Regions from separate parts of the Homo sapiens genome. Here region 2 is linked to region 1. Evidence: promoter capture Hi-C in 16 types of primary human blood cells and fetal thymus (Javierre and others, 2016). All regions are on one chromosome and are shown on one strand. Each heading gives the region's core, a stretch centred on a gene start or on the middle of the fragment in contact. The rest is flanking DNA. Distances are from core to core; before and after follow the strand shown. Region 1 holds the start of OLA1 (Obg like ATPase 1). Region 2 overlaps RAPGEF4 (Rap guanine nucleotide exchange factor 4).

Region 1 (7,494 bases), core at 3,227-5,726:
TGAGCTCCACATGGACCCATTTCTGCCAGCACCACTTGGCTCTTATCCCTCTTGAGGCCTGGCTGTTCAGATTGTAATTCACTTATTCCAATAAACCTCTTTTTCCTGCTGAAAACAGCCAGAATTGTGTTGCTTACAAAGAATCCTACCTGATACAGTTGTGTGAAGTAAGATCATTCTACAAAAAGTAGTGTTTACAACCAAATACAATTGCCGAAACTCATTAAACTGTACCTTTAAAATGAGTGAATTTTACTATTTGTGAAGTATACCTCAATGACACTGGGAGGGGAAAGCATTTTATTTAAAAGTGTAAACAGCACACACACTTATTCTGAATAATAAAATATTTTTAGGTTACTTCCACGTACATTAATTTCATTATGCTCTATGACTAAAAAGCTATGGTCGTCCCTCCATAGCTGCAGGGGATTGGTTCTAAGATTCCAGCAGATTGAGTCCCTTATATACAATGGTGTAGTATAATACCTAATGCAATGTAAATGATAGGTAAATAGTTGTTTACTATTTTTTTTACTGTTATATTCTCATTTTTTATTTAATTAAAAAAAAATTTTTTTTTTTTGAGACGGAGTCTCGCTCTGTCACCCAGGCTGGGGTGCAGTGGCGGGACCTTGGCTCACTGCAACCTCCACCCCCCGGGCTCAAGCTGTTTCTCCTGCCCCAGCCTCCCGAGTATCTGGAATTACAGGCTCCTGCCACCATGTCCGGCTAATTTTTGTTGTGTTTTTTTAAAGTAGAGATGGGGTTTCGCCATGTTGGCCAGGCTGGTTTCAAGCTCCTGACCTCAAGTGATCCACCCACCTCGGCCTCCCAAAGTGCTGAGATTACAGGCATGAATCACCATGCCCAGCCAATTTTTTAAAAAAATATTTTTGATTTGAGATTGGTTGAATCCAAGGATGTGAAACCACAGATACAGAGGGTTGCCTATATGTACAGAAAACACTTAATATGGCCCATTTTAATATAGTCCCATTTAAAATCAAGTTGTAGTAACTGCAACAATTCTAGAATGAGAAGTATGTCAATATCTCAAAACTTAACTTCCTTACTAGTGCAATAAAGCTCACAACATAAATAATGATCATAGCTTGCTTTCACGTTTATTGATAGCACCCTACAGTATTTTGATTAATTATTTGTTTTGCTTACATTTCAACTCTCTACTTAGTCTTACTCTGCAAGCAGACTATATCACAGCAGGAAACCCCTTCAAAATGAAAACCTCTTCAAGCTCCAGGAAAGACTGAAATCAGGACAGCCACACTTGCTCATGTTTTACATTACATGAATTTAAGACATGCCTCACTTGGTCACGCCATGCTCTGTTCATTGAGGAATCTCTATGACAGGAGCTCCTCGGAATACCTAAGAACATGATTGTCCTACTTGCCACCAATCTAAAAGGCCACCCTTGATCACTTTCACAAATCCACACTGAATCTGCTACCTATTAGTACACCCTAATCACTTTTGAGATGTTTTATATTTTAAGGTTAGTGAAAGGATAAATAATGAAAAAGGAACACTTGGACCCAGTGCAGTGGCTCACACCTGTAATCCCAGCACTTTGGGAAGCCAAGGCAGGCAGATCACCTGAGGTCAGGAGTTCAACACCAGCCTGGCCAACATGGTAAAACCCCGTCTCTACTAAAAATAGAAAAATTAGCCGGGCGTGGTGGCACATGCCTGTAATCCCAGCTACCCGGGAGGCAGAGGCAGGATAATTGCTGGAACCTGGGAGGCAGAGGCTGCAGTGAGCTGAGATCACGTCACTGCACTCCAGCCTGGGCAAAAGAGCAAGACTCCATCTCAAAAAAAAAGAAGACTTTGAACACTTAAGTTGCGTGTGTATAGAGTTATGATAAACCCCACATATATTTCCTATCACTCTCTTATTTGCATATATTCAATTCACTGTAACTTTGAAAACATTACAGCTGGGCTCAGTGGCTCATGCCTGTAATCCCAGCACTATAAGAGGCTGAGGCAGGTGGATCATATGAGGTCAGGGGTTCAAGACCAGCCTGGCCAACATGGTGAAACCCCGTCTCTACTAAAAATACAAAAATTAGCTGGGCGTGGTGGTGCGCGCCTGTAATCCCAGCTACTCAGGAAGCTGAGACAGGAGAATCACTTGAACCCGGGAGGCAGAGGTTGCAGTGAGTCAAGATCATGCCACTGCATTCCAGCCTGGGCGACAGAGTGAGACTCCATCTCAAAAAAAAAAAAGAAAAAGAAAAGAAAATATTACAAAACTCAAATTTCTGCTCTCAGAACTTTCAGATTTAGACTCTTTATAACAGCAAACCTTTTACGATTTCCACTACGAAATTCAAAACTGTCACCTCCTTCTCCATCAAGCTTATTATGGTGGAGCTTTCAAATCAATTTCCTAAAGTAGCCTACTGCATGGCCTCTGGTAGACAGCCTATGTAGGTACCACACATAGCCAACCAGCACTGAAATCAATAAAATACATCTAAACTAAAGCCTAATTTTGCAATATTAATAGTCCAGCTTCCTGGCCTCTTTTCTTCAACTTAAAGTTTAATTACCTCACGGTTCCCATTTCTACAATAGGACCCAAAATATTTACAAAATGAAAATCACAAAAGCCCCAACGTTCACCTACCCAACATTTGGCAATCCAACAATACCAATTTTCAGTGAGGTTCCAAATCTTCCAATGATTGGGGGTGGTTTAATTCCATCACCTCCCTTTTTAGGGGGCATCTGAAATACCAAAGCAAACATATGAACAAAACTTTTTACTATCCACATGGACCCAAAACACATTTCATCACATACAATATATTATTGAATTAAGATTAAGAACAAAACATACTGTATATAGCGATCCAAAACTAACACAGAGCTAAATCCACTTTTTTTTCAGCAAAAATGTTTAAAAAGTTCTGTAAACATATCCGTTGTCAAAAGAGTCATTGCTGAGAAGTCCCAGAAAGACTGATCTAAAATCAATATTTGTTGGGCCGGGCACGGTGGCTCAGGCCTGTAATCCCAGCACTTTGGGAGGGGGAGGCCGAGGTGGGCAGACTGCTTGAGACCAGGAGTCGAGACCAGCCTGGCCAACACGGAGAAACCCCGTCTCTACTAAAAAGAAAAACAAATACAAAAAAATTAGCCGGCCATCAGGCGCGCAGCCTGTAATTCCAGCTACTCGGGAGGCTGAGGCTCGAGAACTGCTTGAACTCGGGAGGCGAAGGTTGCGGTGCGCCAAGATCACGCCACTGGGCTCTGCCTGAGCGACAAAGCTAGGCTCTGTCTTAAATAAATAAATAAATAAATAAAATATTTGTGGCACCAGGAATCAAAGATAAACTTAGAGTTTAGCTACCAATCTTCCATCCAGACTGCTCACAAAACACTTTATATCTTAACCTGATATATGGTTATATGAAAGAAAGCATTTGGAAGCAAGTACACAGAAGACAGTCAAAGAAAATTCCATTGTGGAACCACCAGCAGCCAAGTCACCCTTCACACCAAACCATTCCTCTATAATCTGGAATCTTATCTTTCCCATTCGCCCACAACCCCCATTTTTCACATAGATGAACACCCACCAGGTACTGGGGTCCTTCCACCAAGTCCCTCCCACCTTTGGCACTGAAGGTACGGCTCATCAGTCCTCATAAGCAACCTCCAAAATCTACATTATGGTTACTATTTCTAATGGTAAATTAATCGACGGAACCTTTTTATTTACAAGTCGAAACTTTCTCTGTCCCTTACTAGTTCTGTCTCCAAATCATGCGTGCAGAATTACTCCCACCCTTGGACTGCAAAGTGAAATCACAAAGACCGCTAAGCTCACGTCTCAGAAGCTGGGAACTAAAACTGTCCCAGTCTTCTGGCTGAGAGTTGTACCTCCTAGGACCACGCTGGGGCCCTGCCCTTGCAGTAGTATTCCAGCCTCTGATCCCTGACCCCGAGGGCCAGGAATTTCCCTTCTCAGCGTCCTGACACCTGTTCCTGGCCAACTCCCAGGCCTCCAAAGAACAGATACAGGAACAGCGCCTGTCGGGTCCTCTGGCCTACAGAGAGGTGGCCGGCAGCCCACCCAAAGTGGGCCCCACCCCCCATCCTCCTCTCCGGACTGGGCCACCGGGCGTCCTGGCGTCGGGAGAAGGCTTTCCCCAGGGCTTTCCCGCGTGAGGCGTAGGCCGATCTCCCGACGCGCGGCCTAGTCCGACAGCGCCTCATTCATCCACACATCCCCAAGCCACCCGCTGCCCTGGCCCCATCTTGGCCACTGGGCCCGGGCCCCGCGCCAGCCTCAGGGCAATGAGCCCAGGCGCCGAAGACCTGGCGGAGATCGCGCCCCCGGGCTCCCTGAGGGCCTCACCGTGCTCGGCCTGGGCGATGACACGGGGTCCCAGCGGCAGCGAGAGAAAGGTCCTGCCGGCAGCTGGAGGCGGGGAGGAAGGAGGAGAGAACGCAGGCCCGTCCCCTCCGCCGAGCGGCACGCACGACGGCGGCGACAGCGGCGGAACGGGCGGGCCGGGCGCCGAGCGGCACCTGCGCGCAGACCATGGGCCCCGCCCCTCCCCGCCTTGCCCGCGCGTCCCGCCCATTGGCCTAACCGGCCGGGGAGGCGGGAGTAGGGCGGGAGGAGCCCAGGGTGGGAGGAGCCGCGCGGCGGCAGGGAGCTGGAGAGGGGAAGGCGCTGGCTAGGCCGTTCCCGGGAGCTCTAGTCTTCCGCTTCGGCACGTGGGCTTCTCGGTTCTAGGTCTCCGCTTCCGTCTGGCTGCGCGGCCTGGGTTACCTGCTCACGTTCACTCGCGGGCCTACAGCCCCAAGCTTTCCCAGCTGGACTGCGGAGTGCCTTGGGCCCTGACTTCCCTCCGGGAGATCCGGGGCGTCTGAAGTCAGGCAAACAGCCACACCAGCCCCGAGGACCGCGTGGCCGCTAGCCCATCTCCCTTTTCTATAACTTTATTCGCTCAGTCTGTGCGGAGAGAAGCTGTTAACTAAAAGTTCTTGAAGGAAAAGGGGCTAAGGGAAACTTTGGTCTAGGGATTTCTTCCTCGCCTTATAGTTAAAGCGTCGCACACAGGTACTGGATCACAGAATGCGTTTAATTGAGCCAATTTCCCCCCTTTTCCTCTTGGTAGTTGAGAGCAGGGGCCTTTGAAATTTGGGAATTTCCAATCTGGATTTCGCCACTCATTGACTGTATGACCCTAGACAAATTAACTTCTCTGGACTTCAATTTCGTTCTGGATAAAATGAGGCTATTAAAACCACCTTATGAGGTTATTCGTGTGAGAATAAAATGAGACAATGCGTGTTGAGCTCATAACAACAGTACTCAGCACATACAGAAAAGGCTTGTGAGTAGTCGCTGTTGTTAATATTAGGATTTCATCCCATCTCACCCACATCATATCAATACCATGAGCGCCACTGGAGAAGGAATTCTTTCATTTAGGTCCTGGCCTTCAGATGTCATTCAGGTATTTGTTGTAATGAATATGATACCTGTCCAAAAATTGTGACACTAGAAGCTCCTTTTAAAGGGATTAGTTGCTATTAATATTAAAGGATGTAAATAGGTCGCCATCCCCATTTTACAAGTGAGGAAACAATATCAGAAAGGTTGATTAATTTGGATGAAGTCACACAACTAGTAAATGGCAGCAGCATATTTCAAACCACAATCTAACTGAAAATCTGGCCGTAATCCCAGCACTTTGGGAGGCCAAGATAGGGGGATCAGTTGAGCCTAGGAGTTGGAGAACAGCCTGGACAACGTGGTGAGACCCCATCTCTACCAAAAAACAAAAATTAGCTGGGTGTAGTGGCACATACCTGTAGTCCCAGCTACTCAGGAGGCTGAGGTGAGAGGATGGCTTGAGCCTGAGAGCTCAAGGTTGCAGTGAGCTATGATCACTGCCGCAGCACTCTAGCCTGGGTGTAGAGCAAGACCTTATCTCTAACAAAATAAATACAAATAAAAAGTAAAACTAAAACTATCTGAAAAATCTGTTTCCTTTCAGCGAGAATTCATTTTTATTTTTTGAGATGGAGTCTCACTCTGTCGCCCAGGCTGGAGTGCAGTGGCGTGATCTGGGCTCACGGCAACCTCCGCCTCCCGAGTTCAAGCAATTCTCCTGCCTTAGCCTCCTAAGTAGCTGGAATTACAGGTGCACACCACCACACCCAGCTAATTTTTGTATTTTTAGTAGAGACGGGGTTTCACCATGTTGGTCAGGCTGGTCTCGAATTCCCGACCTTGTGATCCACCCACCTCGGCCTCCCAAAGTGCTGTGATTACAGGCGTGAGCCACCGCACCCAGACGAGAATTCATTCAAATAGAGACTCCCTATAAGCTCTGAGCCAGTATTCATAATAAAATTGCATTAAGGCTTTTCCTTAGCCCTGTAACAGTGCTCTAGTGAGGTGAGTTAAAGAGCTTTCTCTACAATTTTGGAAATTCTCAAGGACACAGGCAACTTGATTTGGTTTTGTATTACTTTTTCTTAATATTATATATTAATGTGCCCTATTTATATTCTTGGTCTAGTACCCTTGTCACCAAAACTATATATGTATAAAACAGCTATCTTGGTGCACTTTAACTATGAAAAAGAGGGCTAACTAGCCCAAATTTTGTGGCCACTGTGAAAATAACTCTCAGGAACAGCCCTTCAAAGTGATTCCTGAATCATGTACTGATATTTTAGTAATGAAGCTCTATAGTGGATTCACACTGCTGCTTGTGGAAATAGAGAGGAACCATTACTTAAAAAGCTTGCCGGGTGCGGTGGCTCACGCTTGTAATCCCAGCACTTTGGGAGGCCGAGGCGGGCGGATCACGAGGTCAGGAGATCAAGACCCTGGGGAAACCCCGTCTCTACTAAAAATACAAAAAATTAGCCGGGCGTGGTTGCGGGCAGCTGTAGTTCCTGCTACTCGGAGAAGCTGAGGCAGGAGAATGGCATGAACCCGGGAGGCGCAGCTTGCAGTGAGCCGAGATTGCGCCACTGCACTCCAGCCTGGGCAACAGAGCGAGACACCGTCTCAAAAAAAAAAAAAAAAAAAAGCTCAAGAGGCCAGGTCTGGTGGCTCACACCTGTAATTCCAGCACTCTGGGAGGCCAAGGCAGGCAGATCACCTGAGGCCAGGAGTTCAAGACCAGCCTGGCCAATATGATGAAACCCCGTCTCAACTTAAAATACAAAAATGAGCTGAGTGTGATGGCGGGTACCTGTAATCTCAGCTACTCGGGAGGCTGAGGCAGGAGAATCGCTTGAACGTGGGAGGCGGGGGCTGTAGTGAGCCAAGATCACACCACTGCACCCCAGCCCGAGCAATAGAGCAAGACTCCATCTCAAAAAAAAAAAAAAAAAAAAAAACTCAAGAATCCCAGAGAGCCCTCTCTGCCCAGCAACCAGCCACTCCAATACTGATTGAAAATGTTCCCCGGTCATGGAGTACTA
Region 2 (7,494 bases), core at 2,556-5,055, 1.3 Mb before region 1:
TAATTTTTGTGTTTGATCCAGATGGCTCCATTTTCCATTTGCATGAGTTAAAGCTGTAGAGGTTGTCAGTAGTTGGCTCCGGCTGTCAAAACTGAGTCCCCATATTAAATGACCTTTGGTCAATGACAAACAGAAACTGCTCTGTTTCTATGCCAGCCTGTGGCAGCACCTTTCTCCCTAATGCAACAGGACAGAGGTCATCAGGACCATAGCCTTCATGCCTAGGCCTGCATTCATTTGTTCCTTCACTCATTCAGCACATGCTCTTACCCACCTCTGAGGCTTCTGTTCTTCAGCTTAAAGCTCATTCTTCTGAGCACACCACAACTGCATTACCCCTGTCAAGGCCCCCATTGAGCCACTGAGGCAGTCTCTCCCTTCTGTCTCAGCTGAACCCACCTTACCTTCAGGAGCAGGCCACCACCTGCAATTGTGGACTCTGAAATGTTTAATCAGATCCACTCAGAAAGAATGTATTATTAAGCCCCCGTTTGATGCAGGGCACTCCACAAATTGCTATGGGGCATATAAAGAAGCATACATGTGGTCCTGATCCTCAGGGAAACCTTTTCAGTTAGCGGTGACTTGGCCCTTGCATCCGAAACCACCACACAGGCTTGTGTTTTTTGGCTGGAAATGAAGACGCCCTCTGCCCCACAGCCAGCGTCGGCCAGCTGTGGATGTCAGCTCTGAGTCATGTTTGGCCGACCTTGGTGTATTAGTCTTGTATTAGACAAGGGCATTACATGTTACATGTCCTGGATGTCTGCTGGGTGCTTTCCAAGAGTGAAGTGTCCCTCAGGCCAGCCTCCCCAGAGGCTGCCCCTCAGACCAACCCACAGTAGCCTCTCTGAAGGCACTTTAATTTCCCTTCCCCAGGATTCTTTGACTTGCCCTTACTCAGGGTTGTCCCCTTTGTCAAAACTTTCTCATGGGTCTGACTCTCCCACACCATGTGTTTCAAAGGCCTCCCCTCATCCCAGCAGATACCATCATCCTTAACTCTAGAACCACACTCTTCAGCTCTGTAAGCCTCAAAACCCTTTCTTCACATAAAAAGATGAACAGGAAAATCCAAAACATCAAACAAAGCTAGAGCTTCACTGACATAAGCAGGAGTGGGGTCCAAGAAACCTGCCCAGCCAATGTATGCTTTCTCTGCCCTGAAGGATCATAGGAGAGCATGGCTGAGGGGGCACAAGAGAATCCCTGGGGCCTGGGGAACTCAGATGAACACCACCATTTTAAGCCATGTTTTCTTTCTTGTCCCCTCTTGTCCCACTGTCCCTCCTGCATATTTCCTCATCATTTCCTGGGTCCATCCCCTTTTTGCTGTCCTCCTTGCTGCCACCTGCATCCAAGCCAACATATGCAGTGGTTCTGAATCAAGGTGGGACAGCCCCCTAAGGGCTGTTGTCAAAGCACAGGAGGGGGCCCACTGCTAGCACTCACTGGGCAGTGGCTAGGACCAAGGGCTGCCAAACACACTGCAGTACCTAGGAACCCAACACAATAAAGAGCTGTCCTGAGAACAATGCCCGTGTGGAGAAATATTGCAGTCAACCATGAGTTTCTTAAAGGCAAAGACAGATCTCATTTTACTACATTTGTTCATTTATTGAGTACCTACATTGTTCTAGATACTATGTTAGGTGCTAAGGCATTAAGGTAAACATTGAACAAGAAGGCTTCTCCTCCTTGGAGTTTTCTGTCTAGGGCAGAGGATTAAGCAACTACTTATGCAAGCAATCATTTAATCACAGCTGCATTACATGCTATGGAGGAAGATGTAGTGTGTGTTGGCACAGCCTAATGTGGAGGAGGGTTTAACCTGGTGTGGAACTTAGTAAGGCCGTATCCCTAGCTCTGTGCATTACACCACATAAGCCATCAGTAAACCTTTGCTGAGTGAGTGAATGAATGAATGAATGAATGGAAGTGTGAATACACAGTCCCAGCTAATGTTCCCTCAGCTCTTACTTGCTTCAAGGGAGGCAAAAATGCCATCTGATTCACAAATGTTTTTGAAATGGCTCCTGCCCTTGGGGAGTTTATAATTCAGTGGGAGAGGAATCCCCAAATTAGATTAAGATCCAACAATCATCAATTGAGTGCCTGCTGTATGCTAGGAACATTCATGCTAATTGTTTGATTTAGCCTTCTCAAGAGACATGAGAGCTTGTTTTCATGAGTCACCTTGGGAGAAATGGGAGTCGCTGCTTGTGCTTCCTTTTATTGTCCATACACCATTGAATCGCATGATCCCTGGCAGCCCAGATTCTTCACAGAATATTACATTCCAAAACTGACACTCTTCCATTATATCGCTAGTTGTTAAAGTACAGGTTTTACAAATATTCCAAGATACATGATTTCAGGTGGCCTTGGGATTTTCCCATCTTCTTAGGTTTTTCGAAACTTTGCAAACGTTGGAATTGGGCTGGCACTTCTGGAACTCTTCAGTTTTCTTTCTGCTGAAATAACAGCTCCCGAGAGATGGGAAAGTGAAAAATAAGGAATCTAATTTTGGGAGACAGATATTCCAACTCTACATGTACATACACACACACACCCTTTTTTTTTTTTTTTGATCTGCTAATAATCTTTGGAGCTACTACTTTATTTAAGTGGAAAGAAAACAAGCTTAGTTGATCAAGAATTGCCAGTATCACTACTGTCCTTGAAGGGACCAACCAAGCACTTCACTCCTGGAAACTGAGGGCATGTTCAGAGGTCCTGGAAATGTTGACTTTCTACTGCCGAAAGTGCTAAGTCATTAAGAAATGTGGAGGCATGAGATGCATTGGCTTCATACTGACCAGGGCAGGACCCCCAACTTTTAAACTCAGCACGGCTGCATTTTATAATAGTCACCACTGCCAGAGAGGTTGCAGAACTCTGATAATTACTGGGAAAGAAATAACACAATATTCTTTGATGAGAAGATTACTTTGAGAATTTGATTGTATAATGAAGATGTTGCTTTGAAAGGTACTTCCTATTGTTCTGAATCTGAGACTTGCTAGCAAAAAAAAAAAGTGTCACTTGTTTTGACAGGCTACTTAGAAAAATTCTCTGTTTATTACATTAACTGCAGCATTTTAACTGTCAAACTATGAAAGAATGTTCTGTAGTTTAAAAAACAGAATAGAGCTTCAGGGGAAATTTTTTGGCACACTCTTGTTGCTATTGGTATTGAAAAAAAACACATACATTCTGCATGTGAAATTAGCTTTTTATGTGGTGGCAGACAGAGTGACTCACAATGCCCGTCCTGGTTTCGCAGGTGCAGACCTGGATGGCATTTGGGGGCAAGTGCTACAGAACGATGACAGTTTGACGGTGCTGTTGTTGTAGCTCTGAGACAGGGCCATCAAACACTGAATGAGCTCTCCAAGCTTATTGTTTTGATTTTGCTTTGTTTATAAATCTAAAAACAAGAGGTTGCCCTATAGCAAGTAGATATAATGGGTACTCTTACCAGTAGAAATGTGCATTTTGGCTTTCTTTGAGCAGGTACTTTGGTTAGAGAAATATGAGTAAAAGGATCTGGAGTGACTAGGTAAACAGAGTATTGTAAACTTGAGGCCAACTGTGGATAAAAAAGAGGCTTCAAGGAGACAGGACGCTCTGCTGTACAAGCCTTCCAACCACTCCTTCCAAGTAAAGTGAGACATAGGTTCCAATGTTCAGGATGGTCTATCAGAGACCAGCCTAAAGTTGGGAGGACAGTTAAGTAGACACTGTTTCCCAAATCAAAATTTAGGTCTGCAGTTCTGAAAATGCCTAACAGTAGAAGCCTAAGTAAGTTGAGAAAGAGAAAAGTCATTTGGGCCCGAGCAGAGAGAAATATATGTATATATAAGAGAATTGTTAGAAGTTGGGGAATCTTCCAACTGGGTCAGAAACACACAAACTTGAGTTCGTTTATTTTATGTGATAAATTAATATTTCAGTTGCCCTTGGGATTTTTCCCATCTCCCTAGGTTTTTTGAAACTTTTTAAACATTGGAATTGGGCTGGCAGTTTCTTCTTTTGACTCTTTCTGCTGGAATAAGAGCTCTGAGAGATGGGAAAGTGAAAAGTAAGGAATCTAATTTTAGGAGACAGACAGTCCAACTCTACATGCACGTACACACATACCCCATTTTTTTTTTGATCTGCTAATAATCTTTGGAGTTACTATTTAATTTTACTTAAACGGAAAGAAAACAAGCTTCGTTGGTCAAGAATTGCCAGTATCATTGTTGTCTTGAAGAGACCATCTGAACACACCTTGCTCCTGAAAACTGAGAGCATGTTCAAAGGTCCTGGAAATGGTTTTTTTGTTTGTTTTCTTATTGCCCATACTCTGCTAAGGCATTAAGAAATATGGAAACGTGAGATATATTGGCTTCATATCAAACATATGCTATAGGGCGTAAAGTTGAAAGGCAACAATTTAAGATGGATTAAATGACATAAAGGCAAAATACTGTGGGCGGGGGTGGGGAGGGTATTGTTTATCCCTTAATTGGCTGCCCTAATGCAAGGCTGTCCTGCAGAGGCTGGGTGGAGACTACCCTGCTGCTGTTCGATTCCACACACTTGCTCTAGAGGGCGCGTGAGAGCCTGTGTATTGTGTCTTAATTAGCAGTGCCTGTTTTAATAGGATCTTTATTTGTCTAAACTCTTTTCCAGGGTGTGGAATTTAAAATCCTGGTAATTATAGAGGGATTTGTTTCTTCGGGGGATTCCAGATTAGCAAGCCTAAAATTGGTGGTGGTTAGGGTTTTGATTTCTGCTGGGATGTGTCAAGAGAATGTCCACAGTTACGAAGTTCATCTCAAATGTTAATCAGATGAGAAGAAAAGCACGACCGAAAGAACCTAGGCTTCTGAAGTAAGACAGTCACGGCGAATCCTTCCTTCACTGCATGGTGACCTTCACCTTGGTCTTTACTGGAAAGATTTTGGCGTCACAAGTGAAAGCTTGTAGAATTTACCTGAATAAATGATTGCATTAAGTAGGTCATTTCTCTGCCTCTCCCCATGAAAGCAATTTATTCTTATTCCTCATATCCACATGGCCTGAAACCAGCCATTGGATTGCTACCTTTATGATTAAGATTCAGGAGAGGGGAGGATGAACTTAGCTGCTCATCTACAGTTTAGAGTTTATTATAAGATTGCCTCAAGGTTTTAATGACTTTTTATTGCTAAAGTCGATCTCTTTATTGGAGAAAATTTGGAAACCACTGACAAGAGTTAAAAAAGAAGAAAAAATACCTGCAATCACATGTCTCAGTTAATTACTGTTAACATTTTGGTGCCTATCCCTTTAGTTATTTTTTAATTCCTAACTTTTTACACTTAATAACATATCACAGCATTCTCTCTTAAAGTTAAATATCCTTTAAGGATGGAGCTTTTAAATAGGTGTGTTCTCTGAATGTTCTTTAATGCATTCAGTTTGTGATCGTTGGATGTTTAGGTTGTTTTTCAAGCCCCTTTTTTTTTCTTTTTTTTTTTTTTTCTTTTTTTGAGACAGGGTCCCACTCTGTCACCCAGGCTGGAGTGCAGTGGGGTGATCTCAGTTCACTGCAATCTCCACCTCCTGAGCTCAAGTGGTGCTCCCACCTCAGCCTCCCGAGTAGCTGGAACTACAGGCGCATGCCACCATGCTCAGCTAATTTTTTAGTTTTTTATAGAGACAAGGTCTCATTATATTGCCTAGGCTGGTCTTGAACTCCCAGACTCAAGCGATCCTCCCACCTCAGCCTCCCAAAGTATTGGGATTATAGGCATGAGCCACTGGGCCGAGCACCTTTCTTCTTAAGAGCAGCAAAAAAATAATATTTTAATACTCTTCTTCCCAGAACAAAGGAAGAGCTCCTAGCCAGATAGGGGCACAGGTGGGGCAGAAAGATGCTGGGAAAGTTCCCGCAGGGAACTGTAAACTGTTTCACACCAAGGGAGTGACCGGACAGGAGCACTAGGAGATGCAGCTGGAGAGTTAGGCTGACGTCAGTGGGGGCATCTGCCATGCCCTCTGTGTACGTTGGGTATTATTTTATAGTCATTTGGGGCACCACTGAAGAGTTTTAGAGAGAGGTGTGGTGTGATCAGATTTGTAGTAGGTTGGTTTCTCTGCTATCTCCAGAGAATAGACTGGAGGGGCCAACTAAAGACAGAAAGCCAGATACTGAGTTTTATGAGATTATGTTTGTTATAGTTTGAAATGACAGCCTTTGAGATACGTGCATTTGACCCAAGAGTCTTGTAAATGAAGTGAAAATACTACTGAGCACAAGAGCTCTGGGTTCTATTCTTACCAGTTTATCATTATATCATCTAACATCTTCAGATTACAAGTCTCTTAAGGTATAAAAGGAATTCAATAATACCTGCTTGCCCTCTCCCTACTTCACAATAGATTGGAAATGAAAACACAAGTGCCAACTGAATTTAACTATAGCCACCATTTATCGAGCATCTGTGTGCTAGACACTGTGCTAAACAATTACTTAATTCAATTCCTTCAACAAAACTCTGAGGTAGTTATTTAACATTACTCCCATTTTATGGACAAGGAGACAGAGGCTTAGGCTGAGTCACTTGCCTATGGTTATCCACAAAACACTAGACTCAGGATTCAACTCAGATCTGCCTGACTCTTGAGCCTGTGCTCTTTACTGTGCACTACCATAACCTGCCATCGTCCAAAGGGGCTTCAGAATGGACTCATGGGTTTATGCTTTGAGCATTGGAAAGGAAAGGTGTCAGGGAAATCCAATTTAAAATAATTCTTACAAGGCTGGGTGTGGTGGTTCATACCTATAGTACTAACACTTTGGGAGGCTGAGGCACCCAGATCACTTGAACCCAGGAGTTCAAGACCAGCCCGGGCAACATGGCGAAAACCCATCTCTACAAAAAATACAAAAATCAGCCAGGCGTAATGGTGCATGCCTGTAATCCCAGCTATCAGGAGGCTGAGGTGGGAGAATCACCTGAGCTTAGAAAGTGGAGGCTGCAGTGAGCCGTGATCATCTCACTGCTCTCCAGCCTGGGCAACAGAGTGAGACTCCATCTCAAAAAAATAAAATTATTATTACAGACTAATCTAATTTCATTAAATTATTACCATATAGACCAGAATGGAGTTCACCATCTACTGTGGAAAAAAAGTCCTCTAGTATGGCAGATTCCCAGGCGTGCTGCTAATCCATAATGGGTTAAAATGATGATGAAGATTATTCTTTCCTGAGGGAGTTACATGCTTCTGGAACCTATAATTCTTTTATTTTTGTCTTATGTCCTGAGTTTTACTATGTATTGTCAGGAGCAGAATCCAACGGGCCATATGGGTCTAAAGTTTTACAATCCATTGTCAAACTGATTGCACAGAAATGAAGTGCTTTATAGTTTTAATTGCCATATGATTAGGGTTGCCAGGTTAAATACAGGATGCCCGGTTAAATTGGAATTTCAGATGAATAACAAACAATGTTCT

Evidence for each region. The method cuts DNA at HindIII sites, captures the fragments that hold promoters and counts their contacts. A CHiCAGO score of 5 or more calls a contact.
Region 2: a contact is called between a fragment that was not itself captured here and the fragment with the promoter of OLA1 in region 1, in 1 of 17 cell types (fetal thymus). The highest score is 7.9, in fetal thymus.

The regions. Positions count from the first base shown.
Region 1 is chr2:174,244,056-174,251,549 of GRCh38, forward strand. OLA1 (Obg like ATPase 1) reads right to left here and starts at 4,477. Exons shown (of 11, transcript NM_013341.5): 1 at 4,397-4,477; 2 at 2,660-2,760. The coding sequence starts at 2,760. RefSeq lists a silencer at 4,263-4,782. The HindIII fragment of the contact is 2,463 bases long and covers 2,387-4,849 here.
Region 2 is chr2:172,967,609-172,975,102 of GRCh38, forward strand. The region is part of intron 10 of RAPGEF4 (Rap guanine nucleotide exchange factor 4); the gene reads left to right. Among named protein-coding and RNA genes, the nearest start is that of MAP3K20, 100 kb to the right of the region's middle. The HindIII fragment of the contact is 818 bases long and covers 3,397-4,214 here.